7 separate regions of the Homo sapiens genome follow, and regions 2, 3, 4, 5, 6 and 7 are each linked to region 1. The links are contacts of gene promoters, found by promoter capture Hi-C in blood cells and fetal thymus (Javierre and others, 2016). All regions are on one chromosome and are shown on one strand. Each heading gives the region's core, a stretch centred on a gene start or on the middle of the fragment in contact. The rest is flanking DNA. Distances are from core to core; before and after follow the strand shown. Region 1 holds the start of ITSN2 (intersectin 2). Region 2 has its middle 14 kb from the start of PTRHD1. Region 3 holds the start of FKBP1B (FKBP prolyl isomerase 1B). Region 4 overlaps ATAD2B (ATPase family AAA domain containing 2B). Region 5 overlaps CENPO (centromere protein O). Region 6 overlaps NCOA1 (nuclear receptor coactivator 1). Region 7 overlaps NCOA1 (nuclear receptor coactivator 1).

Region 1 (3,536 bases), core at 386-2,885:
TCATTACAAAGGTGGGCACAGGGAATAGTTATCAATGCATGGAAGGGTGAAAAAATGCAAGCTTTTCAACTGCTTATTAATATTACATCAAAATAGCAGCAATGCACATTTTTTCCACGTTTTCAAAAACATAAAATACATCCACTTTATTTACTTTTGAAATTACAAGAGAGTCACAGGCACAGCCAAAAAAAGCTAAAGGAAAACACATCAGAGTTGTCAGTATCTTTAAATTTGGAAGGACGTCATTATTAATTCGCGTAAATGTTTTATGCGATGTTTCTAGGTAGCTTTTAGGTTTTATCACTGATTAACAATATAGCAAACCAGCACAGGGAGAGAGGCAATTTTTCGAAACGCTTAAGAAGCTTTAAACTACAAGAGCTATGCTACCTAAACTGAGCTCACTAACAACGTAAAATTTCAAGTCACACCTTGCCTATTTCTGAGTAAGCAAGCAAACACTAGTGAGACAAACTAGAAGCATGGAGCAAAGCAAGTCATTTCTATGCTAACCTTAATTCCTATCGTAAAGGGGTTGGCTCCATCAAAAAATATTCCTATTTCAGTATTAACACAAGTTTCAAATAAAGCACACTTGCCATTGGTAATTCTAGAGCGACAAGGCGCATAATTAATAAATCCAAACGGAGCATCTTTCTATAGAATACAAAGCCATCTGCAGTTTCAGCCTCGGTTTACCCACTCACTATGCATATGCAGACGTCTTTAAAAATAAATAAATAAATACACAAATAAACTTTATCTGGCCTGAGAGATTACATCTCTCGGTGCTTCCTGTATATTCTGGAAGTCAATAACGCTGAAGGTAAATTTAACATTTCCAACTCCGGAGGAACGCGAGCGGTAGACGCCAAGCATCCGCCCACTGTCCTCTCGTGACTCGGGCTACTTTGACGCACCGGGATGCGGCTCACCTGACATTCGGCACCAACCCTTGCCAGGAAGGAAAACCAACTCCGCGAAAATAAAATGGGTCCCCGAGGAGGCGTGCGGGTGCCCCCAGAGCTCTCTTCTGCTCACACCCCGAAAGCGAGGGGGCCACGCCACCCCCGACCCTCGCCGGCGTCCGCCACCTGCCAGACGAGGCCGCGGCCAGGGACCCGGGCTCGGCCGCAAGGAAGGGGCAGCCCAGCCCAGGCCCCCTCGGCGTCTGTCCCGGCCCGGCAGCAGAGGAAGGAACCCGGGGCCGGAGGTTTCCGCCCCGCACGGCCGAGCCCGCCAGGGGCCTAGCTCGGGGGCCGCCCGTACTCCCGAGGACCCGTCCCCATCGTGCGGAGCGCACAGCCGCCTCAGCCCGACCCGCAGAGCCTCCGGGCAGCGGGCGCGGCGCCCGCACCTGCCCCGCGCCTTGCTGCAGCCCCGCTAGCGGCTTCACCCACCTGGCGCCCTCGCCGCGCCTCCCGCTCGTCACAGCGCGACTCCGCGTCCCTCAGCACCGGCAGCCTGGGCGCGGGCAGGCGCGGGGAGACCCTGCTCTGCCGCCGTCGCCGCCACTGCAGCTGGCTTGGTCGTCAGGCCGCCGCCCGCGAACCTGTTGCGTAGCCTGTCACAGCCGCTCAGGGCTCCGCCGGCGCCGCCTCAGCCCCACAACAACATGGCGGCCGCGGCCTCCGCAGGAAGCCGGGGGGCGGGGAGGTAGGCGCCGGGCCGGGCAGCTGACGGCCCGCCCGCTGCCGGGCACCGACTCCCCACCCTCCGGAGCCCGAAACTGCCCGGGCGTGGCTCCTCGCCCCAGGAGTTCCGGGGCATTGAACCCTGAAGGTCTGCTCCGAGTCGGTCGGGTCCGAAGCGCTCCTCTCTGCCCTCGGGGAGGCCCCGAAGCCCCAGACCTGGCAGCCCTTCCTGGAGTTGCACAGACCCACCTGGCTCCTCCTCCCCGAGGTAACATGCTGAGCTTGGGTGGTGCTTTTCCTGCCACGGCAGACGCCGGGGTTTTGGAAAGTCCCAAGCAGTGCCTGCCACATCCCTGTTGCACCCACCACGGGGTTCTCCCTGGAACCTTCTCACTCGCCGAAGTTTTCTCCACTGATCTGGGGGAACGAATTCTCTGGGAATTGGGGGGTGGAAGGTGGGAAGGAGGTTGATCCCACCCTTGCCCATGGGTCTGTTACAGGCCTCTTGAACCCTTCTCAGGGACCTGGAGGACTTAACCATACCCTCGGTCATCCATTCACCATTCCTCGCCCTCCTCCATAACACACGCGGAGCGCCCACGAGGAGCACCCTCTACGCTAGTCACACTCCGCCGAGCAGTAGGAAGACTCTGTCCCCATAGAGCATAGCACGACGAAGCTAAACTTTCCTCCCCACCCCTCGCCAAGGGACAGGCGAAGCTCCTACTCAGAATTTGTCTCTTTTCTCCCCTCCCGGTTCCTGGTCTCCTCACAAAAGACCAGACTTCAACTCAAGCCGCCACCGTATCCCAAAACCCCAAAGGTTTGCCCTTGACAAGAAGCTTCTTCAAGGGGAAAGGCTTTCTTTTGATTGGGGTGAGGGAGGAGTTAGTGTTTCCTAATGAACGTAACCAAATGTCGGCCTGGCACAGTGGCTCACGCTTGTAACCCCGGCACTTTGGGAGGCCGAGGCAGGTGGATCATCTGAGGTCAGGAGTTGGAGACCAGCCTGGCCAACATGGTGAAACCCCGCCTCTTCTAACAATACAAAAATTAGCTGGGCGTGGTGGCGGGCGCCTGTAGTCCCAGCTACTCGGAAGGCTGAGGCAGGAGAATCGCTTGAACCTGGGAGGCGGAGGTTGCAGTGAGCAGAGATTGCACCACTGTACTCCAGCCTGGGCGACAAGAGCGAAACTCTGTCTCAAAAAAAAAAAAGTAACCAAATGTAAGACTCAAGATTTTTGGATATAAGACCCAAGATTTCTTTTTTTTTTTTTTTTTTTTTTTTTTTTTTTCCTGAGACAGACTCTCACTCCGTTGCCCAGGCTGGAGTGCAGTGGCGCAACTGTGAGATCTGTGCTCACTGCAACCTCCGCCTCCCAGGTTCAAGCAATTCTCCTGCCTCAGCCTTCCAAGTACCTGGGATTACAGGCACTTGCCACCACGCCCGGCTAATTTTTGTATTTTTAGTAGACACTGGTTTCACCATGTTGGCCAGGCTGGTCTCAAACTCCTGACCTCAGGTGATCCACCCGCCTCATCCTCCCAAAGTGCTGGGATTGGCGTGAGCCACCACGCCCGGCCAAGACCCAAGATTTATTTTGGCTTTTAGAAGCAGGGTGAGGGCTGGTCTGGGGTCCAAAACTCATATCCCTTGATTTGATCTGTGTAGATCAAATAACCCCTGGCATCCTTTCATTCCTTACCTGTTGAGGCAGGTGAAGGTGAGATGGCTCCAAACCCAGGCCTATCTGAACTGGCCAGCCAGCTTAGGAGGAATTTACCAAACATCGATGATGATAAACAGGCTTTTCCCGCTCTCACACTCAGTGTTTTTCCTAACTCTTCGATTAGAACCTGACCAAGACCTGACAGACAGGTCCTGAGCTTCAGTGACAC
Region 2 (3,776 bases), core at 366-2,865, 420 kb after region 1:
CCATTTGCATAGCATGCAAAGAAGGTGGTTGTCCCACACTAATCTTTTATTATGCAGACGGGTTCTCTAACTGGCCTGCGCCATGTTACCTGGTTCTTTACACATGGTGACAAAGGGAAGCTGGAGCCTCCATGTTGAGCATGCCTGGCCCTCAGGTGGCCCTTTTTTTTTTTTTTTTTTTTTTTTTTGAGATGGAGTCTCACTCTGTGGCCCAGGCTGGAGTGCAGTGGCGCAATCTCGGCTCACTGCAAACTCCGCCTCCCGGGTTCATGTCATTCTCCTGCCTCAGCCTCCCAAGTAGCTGGGACTACAGGCGCCTGCCACCACGCCCGGCTAATTTTTTGTATTTTTAGTAGAGATGGGGTTTCACCGTGTTAGCCAGGATGGTCTCGACCTCCTGACCTCGTGATCCGCCCACCCTGGCCTCCCAGAGTGCTGGGATTACCAGCATGAGCCACCGCTGCGCCCAGCCCAGGTAGCCCTTTTCTATTGGCACAACTGGCAGCATTCACCCATGCAAGCTTCCAGCTTGCTTATCTATGACTGCAGTTTGATTTTTCAGGCTGTTCTTTGTTAGAAAAGAAATGATTGTGGGGGGGGCTGCTTTTTGTTAAAAGGGAAAATCCGTCAAGGACTCTGTTGCCCTCACTATCTACCTAAATAATTTCTTTCTAGCTCCTGTATCAACTGTTTTTTGTTTGTTTGTTTGTTTGTTTTCATAAAAGGTGAGTGAATACAAGTCCCTTTCACTAGGAGTTTCGAAATTCTCACACTCTAGGAGCCTCTACATCGTTGGAGAATTTACAGAACATTAGCAGTTATCTGCAATACTTCATCAAGCTCTCAGCTTTATAGATGATATATGCTTGGGTTAAACCCTTTCCACTTCTCCGAAATTACCCTCTCACTGAAAATCAGCTGATTGAGTTGACTACCATCTTAACTGAGAAAGTAGGAAAGGCAGATCGGTGAGACAATCACTTCCAGTCTTCCCTACAAAAATGAATATATAGTATAAACCAAAAAGTGTCTGAGACAGATCTCAACTGATTTAGAGGTTTACTTTGCCACAGTTGAGGTTGTGCATGGGAAAAAGAAATACAAGTTACAATAGGATCTGTGGCCTGTACTGTTTTCAAAGATGGTTTTGAGGACTTCAGTATTTAAAGGGCAAAGAGTGGACAGAAGGGGTAGGAGGAAAGAGAAAGGGGGAGGTTAGGTGGTAAGGCAAATCGTTACATTCTTGTGAGGCTTTGATTAGCACTCACTGAATTCACATTTTACGTTTGAAAAGACAGGAGTAGGGGAAAGTCAATTATGCATTTTTCCTGCACTCAATAAATCTTTATTTTTTTCTTTTCTTTTCTTTTCTTTTCTTTTTTTTTTTTTTGAGACAGGATCTCCCTCTGTCACCCAGGCTAGAGTGCAGTGGCATGATCTCAGCTCACTGCAACCTCCACCTCCTGAGTTCAAGCAATTCTTGGGCCTCAGCCTCTTGAGTAGCTGGGATTACAGGCATGTGCCATCACACCTGGCTAATTTTTTGTATTTTTAGTAGAGACGAGGTTTTGCTGTGTTGGCCAGGCTTGTCTCAAACTTCTGGCCTCAAGTGATCTGCTTGCCTTGGGATTACAGGCGTGAGCCACTGTGCCCAGCCATTCCTTTTACACATAAGGTAAGGTCAGCATGTGAAATCACAGCTATCTGTTTAAGAATAAAAGGAAGGAAGTTTTTGTGTGCTTCAGTTCACAAGTTTAACTTTCCCTTTAGCACAGTGAGTTTGGGGGTCCCCAAATTTTTCTTTTCTTTTCGTATGTCCTATTCACTCTTTTACCTACAATAAAATGCTGCTGAGAAGCAATTCATGTTGAAATTAAACAAGAATAAGATGGCTCCTTGTGAAATTTCTATCAGTTTGGCCTTTAAAACCAATGCCTCTAAAAGCTGAGTGACTTAACTCAGAAAGTGAACAGAAGGGACACATCAACAAACAGGCTGACCTTCCTCTAACAGGAACAAAGGTCTTGCCTGGAGTTTCCTTCCTCATTCCTGAAGAAGCATTCCAGCCCTGCTCAGTTCTGCTGCTTTTTCAAGTCCAAAGTAATTTATCACATACCTGCCTATACTTAACTTTAGGCTACATATTTCCTGATCATCTTCCTTTTTGCCTTGCAAACTTCTATTTTTAAAAAAGCATAAATTGGCCGGGCACGGTAGCTCATGCCTGTAATCCCAGCACTTTGAGAGGCCGAGGCAGGTGGATCACCTGAGCTCAGGAGTTCGAGACCACCCAGGGCAACATGGTGAAACCCTGTTTCTACTAAAAATACAAAAAAATTAACCGGGTGTGGTGGTGCACACCTGTAGTCCCAGCTACTTGGGAGGCTGAGGCAGGAGAATCACTTGACCCCCTGAGGCAAAGGTTGCGATGAGCTGAGATCGCGCCATTGCACTCCAGCTTGGGCCACAGAGTGAGACAGTGAGACTCCATCTCAAAAAAAATTTTAAAAAAAAAGCATAAATTTTAAAAATTAGCTTTCCATTTTAACATTCTTCTAATGTTAGCAATTATACTTTAAATAATAATTACTTAGCAAGCTAGACTTTAAGCAAAACCATCTGGGGAAAAGCTCCCTATAGAGCACACCCTATTTAAAGACTCGCATGACTCTGAGCTTAGGCTTTAAATTTTCATCCTACCTTCAGTTGAAAGCTTCTAAATAGCTTTTTATTAAGGAAATTTCTAAGTGTCTGTGAAAGTAGAAAGAATAGTATAATGAACCAGTTCTAGGTTTTTAATCAGTCTTTTGGTATGTGATTTTTATAACCCCAAGTAAAGAGATGACTTCAGTCACTTTATTCATTACCAGCTCAAAAGTAAGTTGTGGCTAGTCATCCTGGGAATCTTTAGACCTGAGGATTTGTCTTTAAAATTGCACATTAGTGGCCGGGCGCAGTGCTCATGCCTGTAATGTAGCACTTTGGGAGGCCAAGGCGGGCGGATCACGAGGCCAGGAGATCGAGACCAGCCTGGGCAACATGGTGAAACCCCGTCTCTATTAAAAATACAAAAATTAGCCAGGCGTGGTGGCAGGCGCCTGTAGTCCCAGCTACTTGGGAGGCTGAGGCAGGAGAATCGCTTGAACCTGGGAGGCAGAGGTTGCAGTGAGCTGAGATCATGCCACTGCACTCTAGCCTGGGCAACAGAGTGAGACTCTGTCTCAAAAAAAAATGCATATTAGCTATTTTAAATAATGATTATATCACAAGTAATTTAATAGTAGTGACAAAATATATATATTTTCAACCAGCAGATATTAACTGAATACCTACTATTTACCAGGTACTATTTCAGGCACTGGGGCTACCTCAATGAAGAAAATACAAATCCCTGCCCTCATGGAGCTTGCATTCTAATGAAGGTTGGCTGACAAACCAATAAGCAAAATATATGGTGTGTCAGATGACAAGGGCTGTGGAGAAAAATTAAGTAGGGAAGGGGGGATAGGAAGCAGTGGAGTGGAGTGATCACAGTTTAAAACAGGAAAGTCAGAACATGCCTTCAGAGAAGGTAACATTTGAGTGACAACCAGAAGGATGTGAGATAGTGAGCCATGGCAATATGGAGAAAGACCTTCCTAAGCAGAGGTGCAAAGGCCTTGAGGCTGGAGCAGAGTGACCGAGGAGAACTGTAGGAGTTAGGTCAAAGAGGCAATGAGGGACAGGAGGGTGTGGGGCCTTGTAGACCAAATCAGTTCTTTGGCTTTTACTGAGAC
Region 3 (3,466 bases), core at 446-2,945, 310 kb before region 1:
GAAATGGAGGAAGAACACCCTTGGGGCTCATTCTGGACCAGTTTGCCAGGCTTTTCTCCCCATGCCTATCTTCCAGTGCCACTCAGGAGAATCATATCTTCACATCAGTTTTTATGTTTTTCTTTTTCTTTTCTTTTCTTTTTTTAAAAATAAAGATGGCATGCCTGTAATCCCAGCACTTTGGGAGGCTGAGGCGGGCGGATAACCTGAGGTCGGGAGTTCGAGACCAGCCTGGCCAACATGGTGAAACCCTGTCTCTACTAAAAATTTAAAAATTAGCCGAACGCTGGTGTCTCACGCCTGTAATCCCAGCTACTTGGGAGACTGAGGCACGAGAATCGCTTGAACCTGGGAGGCGGAGGTTGCAGTGAGCCGAGATTGTGCCACTGCACTCCATCCTGGCGACAGAGTGAAGATTCTGTCTCAAAAAAAAAAAAAAAAAAAAGGAGAGAGAGAGAGACGGGATCTCGCTATGTTACCCAGGCTGGTCTTGAACTTCTAGGCTCAAGCAATCCTCCTGCCTCGGTCTCCTACAGTGTTGAGATTACAGGTGTGAGCCATTGTTCCAAAAATTGATATACTTGGCCTCACATCAATTTTTGGAACAATGCAGGTAATAATGAGGGGGAAAAAATTTTAAAAGTCCCAATTACCCTTTAAACAAATATTACCTCCTCCAAAAAATATTTTTCTAGATTCCTGAATGTATTTTTTGGTGGAGGAGGAACTCAAAGTAGAATTCATTTACATATTCATTCATTCATTCCACAGCACTAATCACTCCATGCAGTAACTGTGTGTCCCCGTCCCTCTCAGACTTAGTACCTGGAAGACAGCCAACCTGTCTTAATTCTATTGGTATCCCCAGGGCGCATTTCTTTGCCTTGAAAATTGAGTACCCAATAAATGTGCGTCGAGCAGAACTACACGAGATGGAGAACAGGGGTTTAGGGGTATGGGGGAGAGTCAGCAATTACTGGTGTCCTCCCTCCCTCCCCCAGCTCTGCTCCTACAGATCCAGGACGCCTAGCGAGGGTAGGAACCTCTTCTGTGCTTCCGCAACGCTCTGAACTGCACGGCACTGAGCGCATCTAATTAAAGTGATGGTTTCATTAGATAGCAACACAGCGAGACCCCGTTTCTACAAAAAATAAAAATAAAAAATAAAAGATTAGCTGGGCGTGGTTGCTCGCGCCTCTAGTCCCAGCTACTTGGGTGGAGGCTGAGGAAGAAGGATCGCTTGAGCCTAAGAGTTCGAGGTTGCTGTGAGCTATGATCGCGCCACTGGACTCCAGCCTGGGCGACAGAGCAAGATCCTCTGTCTAAAATAAAAATAAAAATAAAATGATGGTTTAATCGCCGGCCTTTGCCCCTTCTGCCCCCCACCCCCCACAAGTCTGTAGGACTGGGTTGACTTCCCAGAGCTTACTACAGATTAGATGCTAAATAAATGTCTATTGGACGGATGCGCGAATGAATGGATGGATGGAGGATGTGGTTGTGCTTACCACGCTCCCTGGTCAGTGGGTTAATGTCGTCAGGCGGGGCCAGGCTCGCTAACAGCCGGGCGGGGTCCCTTCCCCCGGGCCCCGCCCCGGCCGACCCCACCTTTCCGCGCGGCTCCGCCCCGCCGCCCCCTTGCCAGTGGCCCCTCCCCGCGCAGGTCCCGACTCCAGCCGCACCTCCTCCGGCTCTGCAGTGGCGGCGAGGAGGCGAGCCGGAGCGACGGCGGGGCTGGGGCCGGAGCCGAGCCGGGGTCGGGCAGCAGCAGGGACCCCCCAGAGGCGGGGCCTGTGGGACCGCTATGGGCGTGGAGATCGAGACCATCTCCCCCGGAGACGGTACCGGGCTCCCTCCGGAGCCAGGGGAGGGGAGGGGTCCCGGGGCGGAGCCCGGAGGGCGGGGGTCTGATTCGGAGGTGGCGTGGAGGGTGCTGAAGGGTCGGGGGGCTGGATGGGGAAGGCAGGCGGAGACGCCGGACGGGATTCTTGGGGGTCTAGGAGACCATCCTCCGCCATCCTCTTCCGCGCTCACCTAGGGGAATGTAGGCGGCAGCTCGGAGGCGGGGGTCTGCGGCCCGGAGGCGGGGGTCTGCGGCCCGCCACCGCCCCGGGCTTCTCCTGTCGCGGCTGCAGTCGTTCGGTTATCCGCTGCTGCTGATACCCCAGCCTGGGTTTCGGCTTCGCTTTCCCTGCCCTACTCGGCGAGCTCTGGAAAGCAGGACCTGCTCTCGGATACCCGCTGCTCGGGGACCTCCTCCTAGCGCGTCCCCCGCCGGGCCTCCCCTCGGTCGCTTCCCTGCGGGCCGGGCTGTGAGCGGCTGTGGGGACAGACCCAGGCTGGGGAAGGGGGAAGCGCTCCCTTGCCCGCTTCCGGATCTCGCTTTATCCTGCCGCCGCTTTCAGACTCCCTGGCCACCCTGTCCACTCCCATGGCCTCCACATTGAAGCTTCTAAGCCCAGCCCTGCGACCTACGGCCGAACCTCTCCCTGGACGTCCCAGGGTGCTCCCTGGTCAGCAAGTCCAAAACAGAACTCTCGCTTCCCACCTTCTCTCCTAAGTGATCCTCTTTATCCCCCTTCCGTGTCTCACTTTCCCAAGTCCTTGTATTACTGGGTCTGGGTGTGCAAGGAATAGCCATTTCTTTATTTCTTGAAATTTAATTAATACCAAAGCCCCCATTGTCTGCAGGGTTTGATGGGCAAACTTCATATCAGATATTATTAATATGAACAGCTCCCCTCCCCAGGAAATTGGATAACTTCTTGGCTCCAGGCCATCTTCCTTGTCCAATCCCAGCCACTACTTCAGATATCCCCTGGAGTACAGGCTTCTTTGCCCACGCAGGAAACATTGCTGCTGGGTCCCAGAAAGCATCTCCCTGAGGCCTTTTCATCCCTCAGCAGCCCCTGAGCTAATCTCCCCATCTTCAGTCTCTCCTCCCTGCTTTCAATCTCGTCCCCAATCTCATATTCACTCCCTTTCTATATCATAGCCTGAAGACTCTTCTTAAAATGCAGTGGCTCACGCCTGTAATCCCAGCACTTTGGGAGGCTGAGGCGGGCGGATCACAAGGTCAGGAGTTCGAGACCAGCCTGACCAACATGTTGAAACCCCGTCTCTACTAAAAATACAAAAATTAGCTGGGCATGGTGGTACGCACCTGTAATCCCAGCTACTCGGGAGGCTGGGGCAGGAGAATCACTTGACCCTGGGAGCCAGAGGTTGCAGTGAGCTGAGATTGTGCCATTGCACTCCAGCCTGGGTGACAGAGCAAGACTCTATCTCAAAAAAAAAAAAGAAAAAAAATGCATGTTTGACTATGCCCCTCCCTCAGGCAGAAGATGTTTTAATGATTCTTCCCTCTCCCCCAGGAGGGGCCTTTGGTGCTATGGTCTATTCTCATCTTCCACACTAGAGCTTCATCTCTCACCACCTGTCCTAAGCCCACCACTAACTTTTTCCT
Region 4 (3,290 bases), core at 718-3,217, 440 kb before region 1:
TACTATAGGAGTACCTATATTGTACTCCATGTAAATCTGATACAGTATAAGGAAAAACTTGCTCTGTTCTGATGAACTTATATTTTCCCCTGCTCATCTGAGAGTTACACACATTATGAGATTTCCCTCTCAGACTTCTTTTACCTCTTTAACCCTCAATTTCGACCACTCTGCTTTGTTATGTTGGCAAACGCATGAGTGTTAGAAAAGGAAAAGCACAAGGTGATAAAAGTATACTAAAGAAGGACCTAGGGATTTTTTTAATTAAAATAAAAATAAAGTAATACAGCATTTTACTTCTAAAGTTACTCAAAATATTTATTTTGATCTCACAAGATGGGGACTCAGAGTCAATGACTATCTCAAAAAGCCTAAAAAGCTAGTGAAAAAGCCAGAAATACCAGCAAACAGACCTAACAATTAGGAGAAGTAGAAAAAAAGAGTTGAAATAATTTTCAAAGATTGCTGTACAGTTTTGTGAATACAGTATTAGATTGTTTACTAGGAGTGACACCTAGGTGGAGCAAATAAACGCTAATGACTGAGGGCCAGATTAACTGATCTAAAAGGGGTCAAGCTTTATGAAAGCTTGGAGCAAAACAAAAGCCACAGTATACAGGAGTAATCACATCTAACTGCATAGCACTAAAAAACAACCTGATATTTTAAAAGTGTGGGCATTGTGGGTAATGATAAGAGAGGAAAAAAAAATAAGAAAATTTAAAAGTGAGGGCACAAAGGCAATCTACAGATTAAGAGAAAAATCTGCAAACCATATATCTGATAAGCAGTTAATTTCCAAAATACATAGGGTACTCCTACAACTCCAAAGGAAGAAAACATTTTTTAATGGGCAAAGCAGGATTTTAAGGCTGCAGTGAACCACTCCAGCCTGGGCATCAGAGTAAGACTCTGTCTCAAAAAAAAAAAAAAAGGGTCCTAACTAAACAGACACCTGTCAGGTATATAAAAAGGTGCTCAACATTACTAATCATCAGGGAAATGCAAATCAAAACCACAATGAGATATCACCTCACACCTGTCAAAATGGCTCTTGTCAAAAAGACAAGAGACAACAAATATTGGGGAGATGTAGAAAAAAGGGAATCCTGGTACATGTCAGTAGAAATGCAAAATGGTGCAGCCACTATGGAAAACAGTATGAACGTTCCTCAAAAAATTAAAAATAGAACTACCATATGATCCAGCAATCCCAACTTCTGGGTATTTATCCAAAGGAATTGAAATTAGGATTTCGACGGACATCTGCACTTCCATGTTCGCAGTAGCATTATTAATAGCTAAGACATGGAAACAATCTAAATGTCCAAAAAGAGATGAATGTAGAAAACGTGGTGTACATGTGTGCATGCCCAGTGGAATACTATTAAGCCTAAGAAGGAAATCCTGCCATTTACAACAACACAGATGCACCTAGAGGATGTTACACTAAATAATATGTCAGTCCCAGAAAGACAAATACTGAATGATCTCACTTATCTGCTAGTTTAGTGGAATCTAAACTAGCAAATTCACAGAAGCAGAGAGTAGAAGGGTGATTGCCAGGGTCTTGTGGGGGGACAATCAAGTTTCACTTATGCCAGATAAGTTCTGGAGATCTATATAGCATAGTGCCTACATCTAAGAATACTGTATTGCATACTTAAAATTTTCTAAGAGGGTAGATTTTATATCAAGTGTTCTTACCACAAAAATAATACTAATAATACATTCATAATAAAAGGGACAGGGAAACTTTAGGAATGACGGACATGTCTATGGTGTTGATGCGGTGGTGTTTTCACAAATATATACTTATCTCCAAACTCACAGAGTTATATACACTAAGTACCACCTTTTACATGTCAAAAAAAAAAAAGGCTTTTCATACCGAAAAAAAGAAAAAGAAAATAATTCCAATAATCGGCAGAATGCATATTTTCCCCCATCCTATGCATATACTACTTGGGAAAAAGACAAAACTTTAAGAAAAGCTCATAGCGCTATGACTTTTTAAAGCAAATAAAATGTCTCTGGACACAGTGAATGAAATAATCTAAAAACAGGGAAAAGGGGGAAAAATAGGCATCAAGTGTAGTTAGTTAAGAACATGGCACAGGCTGGGCGCGGTGGCTCACGCCTGTAATCCCAGCACTTTGGGAGGCCGAGGCGGGCTGATGACGAGGTCAGGAGATCGACACCATCCTGGCTAACACCGTGAAACCCCGTCTCTAATAAAAATACAAAAAAATTAGCCGGGCGTGGTGGCGGGCGCCTGTAGTCCCAGCTACTCGGGAGGCTGAGGCAGGAGAATGGCGTGAACCCCGGGGGGCGGAGCCTGCAGTGAGCCGAGATCGCGCCACTGCACTCCAGCCTGGGCTACAGCGAGACTCCGTCTCAAAAAAAAACAAACAAACAAACATGGCACAAAAGCAGAAAAAGGAGAAACTCCTCAATTACAAACAGGAATATTATGTTACAAACAGGAATACATTTCTTTCTACAAAAATAAGGGTCTGCGAAAGCAACAACACGGGCAACCCCATTTTGCACCAAATGAGACTTTACAGACACTGGCAAATGCTTATTACAGACCCCACAGACATAGAGGGTGTCTTTAAGTACTCCAGAAAGGGTGAACCAGGAGTGCTAAATTCCTACAAAACTGGAGAAGAGCTAACCAGAAATATACAACCTGCTTCATAAATATATAGTCCATAAACTTAATAAATTCAGAATTATAATTTATCCTCTTCTAAAGGTCCAATCACTATGTAAGAGTAGTTACGTCTCTAAAAAAACCTTTCAGAGAAAGCAATTAGATGACTACATCATCTCCTAGAGCCGAACATAAATCTTCTTAAGACTGAAAAACAAATATTTCAAAGTAAATCTTTAGTACCCTGTTATTTATGGTGCTTTAAAACATTTTAAAAGGATCTTTGAAACAAAGTTTCATTAGTACCCTTCTACAAAGAGCTCTCATATCTTTCATTCTTTTAGCAATTTAAAAGCTACCAAATGTTCATTTCCTCATTAGATTATTGATTCCTAGCCTTTTAACATCTCTATAACAGCTGCTTGACAAATTACCTCACCTTATTCCTCGGGGGGTGAGGACAGCATGATATCCATGAATTCAAAAATGGGACCACAAACTGATGAGTGAAGATGAGCTAATTGCTTCAGATGAGTTAGACACTGCTCTAACAGACTAGGCATTCACATAGCATGATACGATTAAATGCTTACACCCTAAATATTTTCTTTGTCCTTAAATGTACAGAAAA
Region 5 (3,453 bases), core at 285-2,784, 450 kb after region 1:
ATTAAAATTCTAATTTGAGTTACTGTATTTTTTTGGTTCTAAGATTTCCGTCTCATTCTTTTCTGTATAGATTCCAGCTCTTTGGTCTGGGTTTCCATCTTTTAGCCTGTTTTAATGGCCATGCCCCATTATTGAAATAGCTGAATCCCTTGGCATCTGTTCTGTTGTCTTCTTTTTCCTCTTGGCTTTCAGTCATCTGTTTCTCTTTCCTGGTATGCCTGTAGTTTTTTTTTTTTTTTTTTTTTTAATTCAATGATGAGTATTGTGTATGAAAAAATATACGGAGGTCAGGTGCTGTGGCTCACGCCTGTAATCCCAGCACTTTGGGAGGCCAAGGCGGGTGGATCATCTAACGTCAGGAGTTCAAGACCAGCCTGGCCAACATGGTGAAACCCTGTCTCTACTAAAAATACAAAAATTAGCGAGGCGTGGTGGCGCACACCTGTAATCCCAGCTACTCGGGAGGCTGAGGGAGGAGAATGGCTTGAACCCGGGAGGCGGAGGTTGCAGTGAGCCGAGATTGTGCCATTGCACTCCAGCCTGGGTAACAGCAAAACTCTGTCTGGAAAAAAGAAAGAAAGAAGGAAAAATATATGGGTTCTGAGTATGTTATCTTCCTCCAGAGGAAATTTTAGTGTTTTTCTGGCAAGTAGATCGTGTATGGGCACATCACCTTTATTCAGTTGAGGTGGTCTATTTCCGGTTTCCCTTACTCCTAGGGCTTAGCTTTTTTTAGGACCTTCAGTTGAAAGTTTGGGAGTGTGTTGGAGATGGGTCTATTAAGGCTCCTGTTCCCTGGCAGGCCCTGAAATCCACATTTTGTTCTAGCAAAATCTCTGCTTGGCTTTTTCCCCTTTAGCAGCTTCTTTCCGTTTGGTTTCTCAGTCCCCAGTCACACCTGTGCAGCTTAGGAATTAGCAAATGCCGGGAGGGAAGATTGCAAGCAGAACGTTGAGTTCCTGTTTCTATGGAATCTTGGCCCGTAGAAAGTCTGCTTTGATACCATTAATGTCCAGTGTTTGTTCCGGATGAGACTGCTGCGGAGTCTAGTTTATGCCTTTCTATGTGGCCCAGTGTGCCTTGCATATGAATAAGGAAATGCTCTGAGGCCAGAGGCTGCAGGGAAGCCAGCTCAGAGCATTTGTCAGTACTCTCCAATCCTGGCTATTTGGATCCTTCTGGAATGCCTTCAAACCATTTGCTCTCTTTGCTTGCTTGTTTCTTTTTGGTATTTTATCCAGCTTGCATAGTTGTTCTCAGAGGGCGGGTCAGCCTGGTACCTTCTGCTGGGCCATAGCTAGCAGCGTAAGCCTTGGAGCCCTGGCACTTGAAACCCCACACTGTCCAAGCACAACTTACCCAGCCTTGCCTCTTCACAGCCACCTGTTGTGTCCACCCTGTGCTTAGCCTAGACTTTCCACACAACCTTTTCTTGCTGCTCTCTCAGTCCTGTCCATTCCCATCAAAAATCGAATTGTTCTTCAGACCTGTACAGTCTCCACTTCTGATTCCTGGCATTGTGACCCATGAGATTCTTCCTCTGCAGTGAATTCATAGCAATAACTGACCGGCCACTGTAGCATTTCTTGATGTATTATATCATGTGCCTTGTATTTAGCTTTCATCCAGTTGGGGGAGGGCGGGGATGTTGTAGTGTACCTCTTTGTACCAAGATTGATTTGCTGCATATCTTGCAGGTGAAAGCATGTATTGCCAATGTAGAACCCAACCAAACAGTGGAGATCAATGAGCAAGAAGCATTGGAAGAGAAATTGGAAAATGTGAAAGCCATTCTGCAGGCATATCATTTTACAGGTTTTGTTTGTTTTTTTAACCTAATTTAGTCTGGGTCTGCCTCTAGTGAGTTAGTTTGCTAGATGTGTTATCAGTCCTGGAATTATTTCATAATTTATAGTATTTTACACCCTCTGCCCTCATCACTCACACACACACACACACACAGACACACACACAGCTGACGTGCTATTTGTAGGCCTATCTTCACCTACAAGATTGACTGGCCCCTTTGTACAGCAGCTCAGTTGGTGGCTGGCTTATTCCACTCATCTTAACAGTTCGTCATGTGCCAGACCTTGTACTAGAACTGTCTTTACTGCTGGCTTGTTTTCTGCCACTAGTGAAATAGTTTGAACTTTCCAAGTCTCCGTTTCACCGTAAATAGGGATTTATTCTCCCATCTATGCCACAAGATAGTTGTGGGAAGAACTGGGGACTCTGACAAATTACTTCACACTCAGAAATAAAGAATAGCTATAAATTAAATTTTTGGCCTTGCTTATGCCTGTAATCCCATCACTTTGGGAGGCTGAGGCAGGATTACTTGAGTCCAGGAGTTCGAGACCAGCCTGGGCAACATAGCAAGACCTCATCTCTACTAAAAATTTAAAAATGAGCCAGGTGAGGTGGCATGCGCTTGTGGTCCCAGCTGTTTGGGAGGCTGAGATGGGAGGATCATTTAAGCCCAGGAAGTTGAGGTTGCAGTGAGCTGAGATCGTGCCACCGCACTCCAGCCTGGGTGACAGAGTGAAACCCTATCTCAAAAAAAAAAAAAAAAAAATTTCTCAATAGTTTGACATTTAGGTTGTTTTTTCATTTTTACCATTCTTCCATGGTTTTAACAACTCAGTCTCAAAGTGAGCCGGAGCCAAGGGGAAGAATGAGCCTATGATACTCATTGAACAAACATTTGTGTACAAAGTGTACATATTCTAGGCACTGTGGAAGCTACTGGAGGCACAGATGAGTAAGACATCACCTTGGCCTGCTGTCTATTGAGGTGTCTTCTTGTTTGCCTCAGGCCTCAGTGGTAAACTGACCAGCCGAGGAGTTTGTGTCTGCATCAGTACTGCTTTTGAGGGGAACCTATTGGATTCCTATTTTGTGGACCTTGTCATACAGAAACCACTCCGGATACATCACCATTCAGTCCCAGTCTTCATTCCCCTGGAAGAGATAGCTGCAAAATATTTACAGACCAACATCCAGCACTTCCTGTTCAGTCTCTGCGAGTACCTGAATGCTTACTCTGGGAGGAAGTACCAGGCAGACCGGCTTCAGGTATCTCTCTGGGATGTTATATGCCTCATCCGTGGGCCCAAGATCAACTTAAAAGGGGGATGTTTTTTGTATTTTCAGTGTTTCCTAACTGTGAGTTAGAAGTTTGACCGTTACCTTTCCGATGCTTGTTTCTTATTTATATAAAAGCACTATCCCACCCTCTTTTCTTTTGAAACTCTGGATGGCGTTGAAGCCTGGGTACTGGTTAAAGGATTATGCACCCCTGAATGGTGGTCTTCAAGCTTTTATCGTAAGATTGTACAGAGTGCAGTTGCTATACTTTTGATCCATCAGGGATTTATGGCGTGCCTACTATGTACCATACCGAGTGCCTTGCTGAACCTTGGGTATAGATCTCATTAGAGAAGAAAGGTT
Region 6 (3,796 bases), core at 43-2,542, 370 kb after region 1:
AGGAAGAGAGAGGAAAAGAGAAAGAGAAGGAATCATAAATGTTCTGAGATATTAATTGAAGATAAACTACTTCTTGTAGCTTTCCATTCATCTTTAGATAGAGGGCACCAGAATAAGAAATGCTTAACAGTTTCCCCGTGTTTAATTTTTCACAGAACATATTTAAGGGGACTACACTAGGTACTATAAGGAATACAAGGAATAAAAGAAACAGGCAACTGCTTGGCTTTTTGACTACAAGACCTGAAAACCATTTTGACTACATACCTGAAAAGTTAAGTGACGCTGCAAGCAGTATGTGATTAAGGGCTAAACCAAAAAAGTAAAGGAAAGTGTAGGTGTGCTAGTTTCTCATTTTACAATGTAAAGTTCTGTAAATACTGCCTAATATTAAAGGGTCAATGAGCAAGGCCAGACCAAGGGTCTAGGTCAGGTTCATGAATGAATGGAATGATGATTCATGCTTGATTCAGAAAAAAAAAGTTGTTTTGGCTTCCATTTGCTCCTAAAACAGCTGATAAGCAGAGAAGCCCTGCAAAGGTATGAGAATAAGATGCAAATAAGTGAAAGTTGCTGCTCTTTGCTTCCCTTAAATCTCATGGATGCCTATCCAGAGATGGCATGGTAACCTAACAGAGTAAAGTATCCACCAAGTTGAAGAAACACAGAATTTGGGGCTCACCATGTTATAAGCCCCATGTATGTCTATACGCAAAAACAACTTCTACTGCAAACTAAGACAGTAACTCTGCTACCTAACGAGCCACATATCGGGGCCTGTTCCTTCTCTTTTAAGCCATAAGTTCTTACTGTTTCAGCACTAGGTCGCTCAGCTTCACTTGCACTGCAAGTACTAGGAGTTTTACATGTGTCCACTTAAGGGCTTTCTGTGAGCAGGTCTGGCCAAGGTTCTCAGTCAGTGTCTTGGTTAAGATGCTTTCAGCCACAAGGAAAGAAAAAAAGATCAACTCAGCATAGTAAAACAATAAAGAAAATATTTTGACCCAATTGACAATCCAAAATGAAAGCAGACCAAGGTGTGGTTACTTCAGAGATTCAGGGATGTTATCAAGGACCCAGGTTCTTTCTCTTTTTGCTCTGCAATCCTTGGCATGCCATGATTACAAATACCGTAGGCAAACAAAACTATAACTAGCAGAAGAAAAGGGACTGTTTCTTTCCTATGTACCTCTTTCCAAAAGCCAGGAAACTTTTTCCAGAAGGTCTTCCCACCCCATCCCCCGCCAAAAAAAGAAAAAAAGGAACAAAAAAAAAAAGTAAAAAGGGGGAAAAAATACTTCACATGTCTGACTAGTCAGAACTGAGTCACATGTACACCCTTAACCAATGGTTCGCAAAGACTGACTGAGAATACTCCTGGATTACCCCTGGAGTTGTGTGATTTGGGATGGTCAGCTGAACAAAATCTGTTCTGTCTTCAAGAAAGAAGGGGAGAGTAAATGGCTGCGGGTTGGCAATAACAGTGCCTGATTAAATCAAGAAATTGAGGTTTAAATATATTGTTTAAAGTTATATAGTTAAATTCACAGTTGGGATAAAATAGTGAACTGAGGTAGTATTAATATATCTCCCCTTTCTCCTGCCTTAAATCCTATTAAATAACAGGTTGTATTTTTTGTGTCTGTGACTAAGTTCATGTCAGTGTAGACAAAAAAAAGAACACCATTAGCGCACTAAAAATTAAGTCATTTTGAAATACAAAAAAAGCAAACATGAGAAAGAAACAAAATTATATGCAAATAATACAACTATTTATATAGAAAATCCAAAAGAATCTGGCCGGGCACAGTGGCTCACGCCTGTAATCCTAGCACTTTGGGAGGCCGAGGCGGGTGGGTTGCCTGAGCTCCGGAGTTCAAGACCACCCTGCGCAACATGGTGAAACCTCATCTCTACTAAAAATACAAAAGTTAGCTGGGCATGGTGGTGCATGCCTGTAATCCCAGTTACTGGGGAGGCTGAGGCAGGAGAATTGCTTGAAACTGGGAGGTGGAGGTTGCCATGAGCCAAGATTGTGCCACTGCACTCCACCCTGAGTGACAGAACAAGACTCCATCTCAAAAACAAAACAAAACAAAACAAAAAACAGAAAATCCAAAAGAATCTATAGGGAACTTAGAACAAATAGAGTAGTTCAGCAAGGATTTTAGATAAAAGAACAAGAAACAAAAATTAATGGCAATTCTTTTTACTAGAAAATTAATTAAAAATACATTCAGGCCAGGCACGGTGGCTCACGCCTGTAACCCCAGCACTTTGGGAGGCCGAGGTGGGCGGATCACCTGAGGTCAAGAGTTCGAGACCAGCCTGGCCAACATGGTGAAGCCCCGTCTCTACTAAAAATACAAAAATTAGCTGGGTGTGGTGGCGTGTTCCCAGCTACTCAGGAGGCTGAGACAGGAGAATCGCTTGAATCCAGGAGGTGGAGGTTGCAGTGAGCCAAGATTGTGCCATTGCACTCCAGCCTTGGTGACAAGAGCGAAACTCCATCTCAAAAAAAAAAAAAAAGAAGAAAAAAGAAATTCACACTGTTCAAAACTTAGAAGATGTGGAAGTCATAATTGAAAGGCAAAAAGAACATCCAAAAAAAAATACTCATGAAAGAAATTATGTCTCCTAATTGGTTGTCGCTTGTAAAAAGATGACAGTTGTTCCAAATTCAATCAGTAAATTCAGTGGAATTCCAATAAAATCTCAACATGGAATTTGACAAATAGATGCTAAATTTGTTTTAGAAGCATCAATACAATCTTGAAGTATTAATAAAATGAGGGTATACTTGCTCTACCGATATCAAGATTTAAAACAAAGCTTTAAAAATTAAACCAGGCTGGATGTGATGGCTTACACCTATAACCCCCCCATTTTGAGAGGCGTAGGCAGGAAGATTGCTTGAGGTTAGGAGTTTGAGACTAGCCTGGGCAACATAGCAAGACTCTGTCTCTACCAAAAATAAAAAAAACCAAAAAACAAAAAGCCAGGTGTGGTGATGTGCACCTGTAGTCCCAACTACTTAGGAGCCTAAGTTGGGAGGATCTCTTGAGCCAGAGTTCAAGGCTGCAGTGAGCTATGATTGTGCTACTCACTCCAGCCTGGGTGGCAGAGCAAGACCTTGTCTCTAAAAAAAAAAATTAAAACAGTGTGGAACTAGCATGAGGATAAATAGTTCTACCATAATAGAGTTCTACATAATAGACGGTTCTGCATAATAGCTCTACATAATAGAAAGCCCAGAAACACACCCAGACATATTGAGAGACTTAATAAGAGACAGAGGTGACAATGGGGAAAGAATGGCGTGCATCATAAATGCTGGTACATTTGGCTGTTCATGAGGAGGAAAAAATTAAATTTGATCCTCATCTTATACAAGACACAAAAATAAACTCTAAGTGTTTTAGTGACCTAAATGTGAATATGAAAATATCTCTGTAGCCTCTTTAAAATGACATAAAGGAAAAAGTAAATGTTTACATTAAAATTTACGACCTAGAAGACAAAAGACACCATAAGCAAGGTTAAAAGGCAAGACAAAGACTCAAAGAAGATGTTTCCAACCCCATATGACTGGCAAAGGACTAGTGTCCAGAATACACCCAGTTTGTAATCTGCTATTCATAATATATTTACCTCATTGGATTGATACCCACCCATCTGTTCGCTTATTGGTCATATCCTCTCCTTCCCTCTTCCCAAATACAGGAGACTGTAAGCATCTCATAGCAAGAATTTAGCACCATGCCTAGTGATTTGAGAAAAGAAAACGGGTGTACTC
Region 7 (3,372 bases), core at 382-2,881, 400 kb after region 1:
TCATAAAAATATATAAACACCAATTACCTTTTTTATCTTCAAATGATACTATATCACCTCATGTATAGAGGTGTATATTATATCACCTCTATATCACATGAGGTGATATATGTATGTATAGAGGTATAATATAATGTATAGAGGTATATATAATGTATAGAACCTCATTACAATTTATTTCTATTTTGTCCCTCCTGTGCTACTGTTGTCATACATGTTATATTTATATATGTTCTGTTCCCTGCAATTTATTATTTTTTCTTTAGTCAATTATAAATTATAAATTTATAAATTCTACTTACAAATTTATAAATTAATTATAAACTATAATTGACTATTTAAAGAAAATTTAAATAAAAGCTTTTTTATATTTACCCACATAGTCACCACTTTAAATTTTCTGCATTCTTTTTGTAGTTCTAAATTTCCATTTGGTATTATTTTCCTTCTGCCTGAGGGTCTTGCTTTAACTTTTTTTTTTTCTTTTTTTTTTTTTTGAGATGGAGTCTCGCCCTTTAGCCCAGGCTGGAGTGTGGTGGCACAACCTCAGCTCACTGCAACCTCCACCTCCCAGGTTCAACCGATTCTCCTGCTTCAGACTCCCAAGTAGCTGGGACTACAGGCACCCGCCACCATGCCCGGCTAATTTTTTTTTTTTTTTTTTTTTTTTGTATTTTTGGTAGAGATGGGGTTTCACTGTGTTAGCCAGGATGGTCTCAATCTCCTGACATCATGTTCTGCCCGCCTCGGCCTCCCAAAGTGCTGGGATTACAGGCGTGAGCCACCGCGCCCGGCCTTGGCTTTAACATTTTTATAGTGCAGGCCTGCGGCTAATGAGCTTTTCTATGTCTGAAAAAGTCTTTCACCTTCATCTTTGAATGTTCTTTCCCCTAAACTCTAGCTTGGCAGTTTTAGCTTTCAGTACTTTAAAGATGTTGCTCCACTACAGTGTTGCTGATGAGACATCTGCTGTCATTTTATCTTTGTTCTTCCATGTATGATTGATGTTTTTCCCCTCTGGCTGATTTTGATTTTTCTCTCCACCACTGGTTCTAAGTAATTTGATTATGATATGCTTCAGTGTATTTTCTTCATATTTCTTATTCTTGGGGTTCATTGAGCTTCTTGATTCATTACCATATAATTTTCATTAAATTTTGGAAAAAATTTTTTGTTGTCGTTTTTTGTTTTTTTGTGGTTTTTTTGAGACAGAGTCTCACTCTGTCACCCAGGCTGGAGTGTAATGGCGCAGTCTCCACTCACTGTAACCTCCACCTCCTGGGTTCAAGCAATTCTCCTGCCTCAGCCTTCTGAGTAGCTGGGAGTACAGGGGTGCGCCACCACACCCAGCTAATTTTTATGTTTTTAGTAGAGACGGGATTTTGCCATGTTGGCCAGACTGGTCTCAAACCCCTGACCTCAGGTGATCTGCCCACCTCGGCCTCCCAAAGTGCTGGGATTATAGGCGTGAGCCACCACACCCGGCCAAATTTTGGAAAATATTGATCATTATTTCTTCAAATAATTTTTGTCACCATCCTTATTCCTCTCCTTCAGAGACTTCAGTTGCATGTATAGTGCACTTGAAATTGTCTCACATTCACCGATTCTCTAGGTTTGGGGGCTTTCGAGCACTGGGATGAGGTTCAGTTATTTTTTTCTTTGATTTTAGAACATTTATATTACTGTAGCCTCAGGTTCACTAATTCTTTATTTTGCAATATCTAATCTGTTTATACAGTGTATTTTTCATCTCAGACATAGCAGTTTTCATATCTAGCAGTCATATTTGGATCCTTTTTATATCTTCCATATCTCCAACATTTTTTTCATATCTGTTCAGCCTTTCCTCTTATTTCTTAAACAAATGGAATATGGTTATTATAATTGTCCTGATATTTCTCACCTATCAGTTCTATTATCAGCATCATTTTTGAATTGATTTCAGTTGACTTCCCTTTTCATTATGCATCATATTTTTCTGCCTCTTTGCATGCCTGGTAATTTTTTATTGGATGCCAGACATGAATTTTACCTTGTTTATATTCCTACAAATATTCTTGAGCTTTGTTCTAGGAAATGGTTACTTGGAAGTTTGATCCTTGCTTTTTTGTTTACTGCGACCAAAGCAGTATTTTTTCTAGGGCTAATTCTAACCTTACCACCAAGGTAAAACCTTTAATATGCTACATGATACTACATGAATTACGATGTTTTCCACTCTGGGGGGTGAAATCAGGGCTTATTCCCAGCCCTGTGGGGACTTTGGGAATTGTTCCATGTCATCTATTCAGGTGATTGTTTCCCCTGCATCTATAAGCTGATTAGTACTGAGCTTCAGACTTGAGGGCCACTGCAGATCTATTCCAGAGCTCTCTCTGATATTCTGCTCTGAGGATTCTAGCTGCATCCCCTTAACTCAGGGAGCCTGCCAGGCGCTGCCTGGATTCCCTTTGTCCATGATACAGCCGGAAATACACTCCAGGCAGTAGGCTGGGCGGTTGCCACAGTAGGGACTGCTGAACTGTTAGGGATCACTGTCCTTCGTTGCCTTTGTCTAATGTCTTCAGTGCCTTTTTTTCACATATTTTGTCAATTTTTTTAGCTGATTGAGGCAGGAGGATAAGTCTGATCCCTGTTACTAAATCTTGACCAAAGTGTGAGTCTACCACTAATTAACATATGTATGTGTGAATTAACTTTTTATTAAAGTATCATATATAAGAATATAGAGAAAAGTGTACAACTCAATAGATTTTCACAAAGTGAACACACCTGAGTACCACTCAGATCAAGAAACAGAATGTCATCAGTACCCCAGAGGTTCTCCTTGTGTCCCTTACACACTCACTACCCCACAAGGGGAATGACTATCCTGACTTGTAACAACACAGTTAATTGCTAAGCTTTTCATTTTTGCTGTGCTCCTATTACTTTTCTGTCAGTGAGATTGTTTTTCATTGGAGAATTTGGTTTTCAGTTTAAACAACTAGCTTGTAATTTGATCTTGTATTTATCTTTAATAGATAAATGATCCCGCACTGAGACACACAGGCCTCTACTGCAACCAGCTCTCATCCACTGACCTTCTCAAAACAGAAGCAGATGGAACCCAGGTCAGTAAGGAAATTCTAAGCCCAGAGCTGTCAAATGTACTCTAGATGCACAGAGGTCATTGTGTAGCATCATTAAGAGCCTGACCTTGGGAGTCAGACCTGGGTGTGAGTCCTGGCTCTGCTCTTCTTAGCTGTGTCGTCCTGGGCATGTTATGGAGCTTTCCTGAGCTGCTGTATAACCACAGAACTAACATGACACCTGCTTATAGGATTGTTGAGAGGATTCAATGAGATCAGTTCAGATGGCTTAACTCAG

Evidence for each region. Contacts are between HindIII fragments. The CHiCAGO score rates a contact against its expected background, and 5 or more counts as called.
Region 2: a fragment that was not itself captured here is called in contact with the fragment with the promoter of ITSN2 in region 1 in 1 of 17 cell types (neutrophils); the score reaches 6.2 in neutrophils.
Region 3: a contact is called between the fragment with the promoter of FKBP1B here and the fragment with the promoter of ITSN2 in region 1, in 14 of 17 cell types (erythroblasts, endothelial precursors, fetal thymus and 11 more). The highest score is 17.8, in erythroblasts.
Region 4: a fragment that was not itself captured here is called in contact with the fragment with the promoter of ITSN2 in region 1 in 1 of 17 cell types (erythroblasts); the score reaches 5.2 in erythroblasts.
Region 5: a fragment that was not itself captured here is called in contact with the fragment with the promoter of ITSN2 in region 1 in 8 of 17 cell types (monocytes, neutrophils, fetal thymus and 5 more); the score reaches 7.6 in monocytes.
Region 6: a contact is called between a fragment that was not itself captured here and the fragment with the promoter of ITSN2 in region 1, in 1 of 17 cell types (neutrophils). The highest score is 9.6, in neutrophils.
Region 7: a contact is called between a fragment that was not itself captured here and the fragment with the promoter of ITSN2 in region 1, in 1 of 17 cell types (neutrophils). The highest score is 5.9, in neutrophils.

The regions. Positions count from the first base shown.
Region 1 is chr2:24,358,901-24,362,436 of GRCh38, forward strand. It overlaps ITSN2 (intersectin 2), which reads right to left and starts at 1,636. Exons shown (of 40, transcript NM_006277.3): 1 at 1,404-1,636. RefSeq lists silencers at 1,050-1,449, 1,460-1,509, 1,520-1,819 and an enhancer at 1,920-2,069. The HindIII fragment of the contact is 2,111 bases long and covers 367-2,477 here.
Region 2 is chr2:24,777,280-24,781,055 of GRCh38, forward strand. No RefSeq gene overlaps it. Among named protein-coding and RNA genes, the nearest start is that of PTRHD1, 14 kb to the right of the region's middle. The HindIII fragment of the contact is 2,192 bases long and covers 520-2,711 here.
Region 3 is chr2:24,048,046-24,051,511 of GRCh38, forward strand. FKBP1B (FKBP prolyl isomerase 1B) reads left to right here and starts at 1,696. Exons shown (of 4, transcript NM_004116.5): 1 at 1,696-1,841. The coding sequence starts at 1,805. RefSeq lists a silencer at 1,558-1,857. The HindIII fragment of the contact is 22,874 bases long and covers 1-2,447 here.
Region 4 is chr2:23,921,783-23,925,072 of GRCh38, forward strand. The region is part of intron 1 of ATAD2B (ATPase family AAA domain containing 2B); the gene reads right to left. Among named protein-coding and RNA genes, the nearest start is that of ATAD2B, 3.7 kb to the right of the region's middle. The HindIII fragment of the contact is 2,762 bases long and covers 587-3,290 here.
Region 5 is chr2:24,812,679-24,816,131 of GRCh38, forward strand. CENPO (centromere protein O) reads left to right here. Exons shown (of 8, transcript NM_001322101.2): 4 at 1,698-1,815; 5 at 2,819-3,078. Among named protein-coding and RNA genes, the nearest start is that of CENPO, 21 kb to the left of the region's middle. The HindIII fragment of the contact is 3,568 bases long and covers 1-3,318 here.
Region 6 is chr2:24,731,664-24,735,459 of GRCh38, forward strand. The region is part of intron 17 of NCOA1 (nuclear receptor coactivator 1); the gene reads left to right. Among named protein-coding and RNA genes, the nearest start is that of PTRHD1, 60 kb to the right of the region's middle. The HindIII fragment of the contact is 3,076 bases long and covers 1-2,830 here.
Region 7 is chr2:24,759,661-24,763,032 of GRCh38, forward strand. It overlaps NCOA1 (nuclear receptor coactivator 1), which reads left to right. Exons shown (of 23, transcript NM_003743.5): 22 at 3,027-3,116. Among named protein-coding and RNA genes, the nearest start is that of PTRHD1, 32 kb to the right of the region's middle. The HindIII fragment of the contact is 2,546 bases long and covers 359-2,904 here.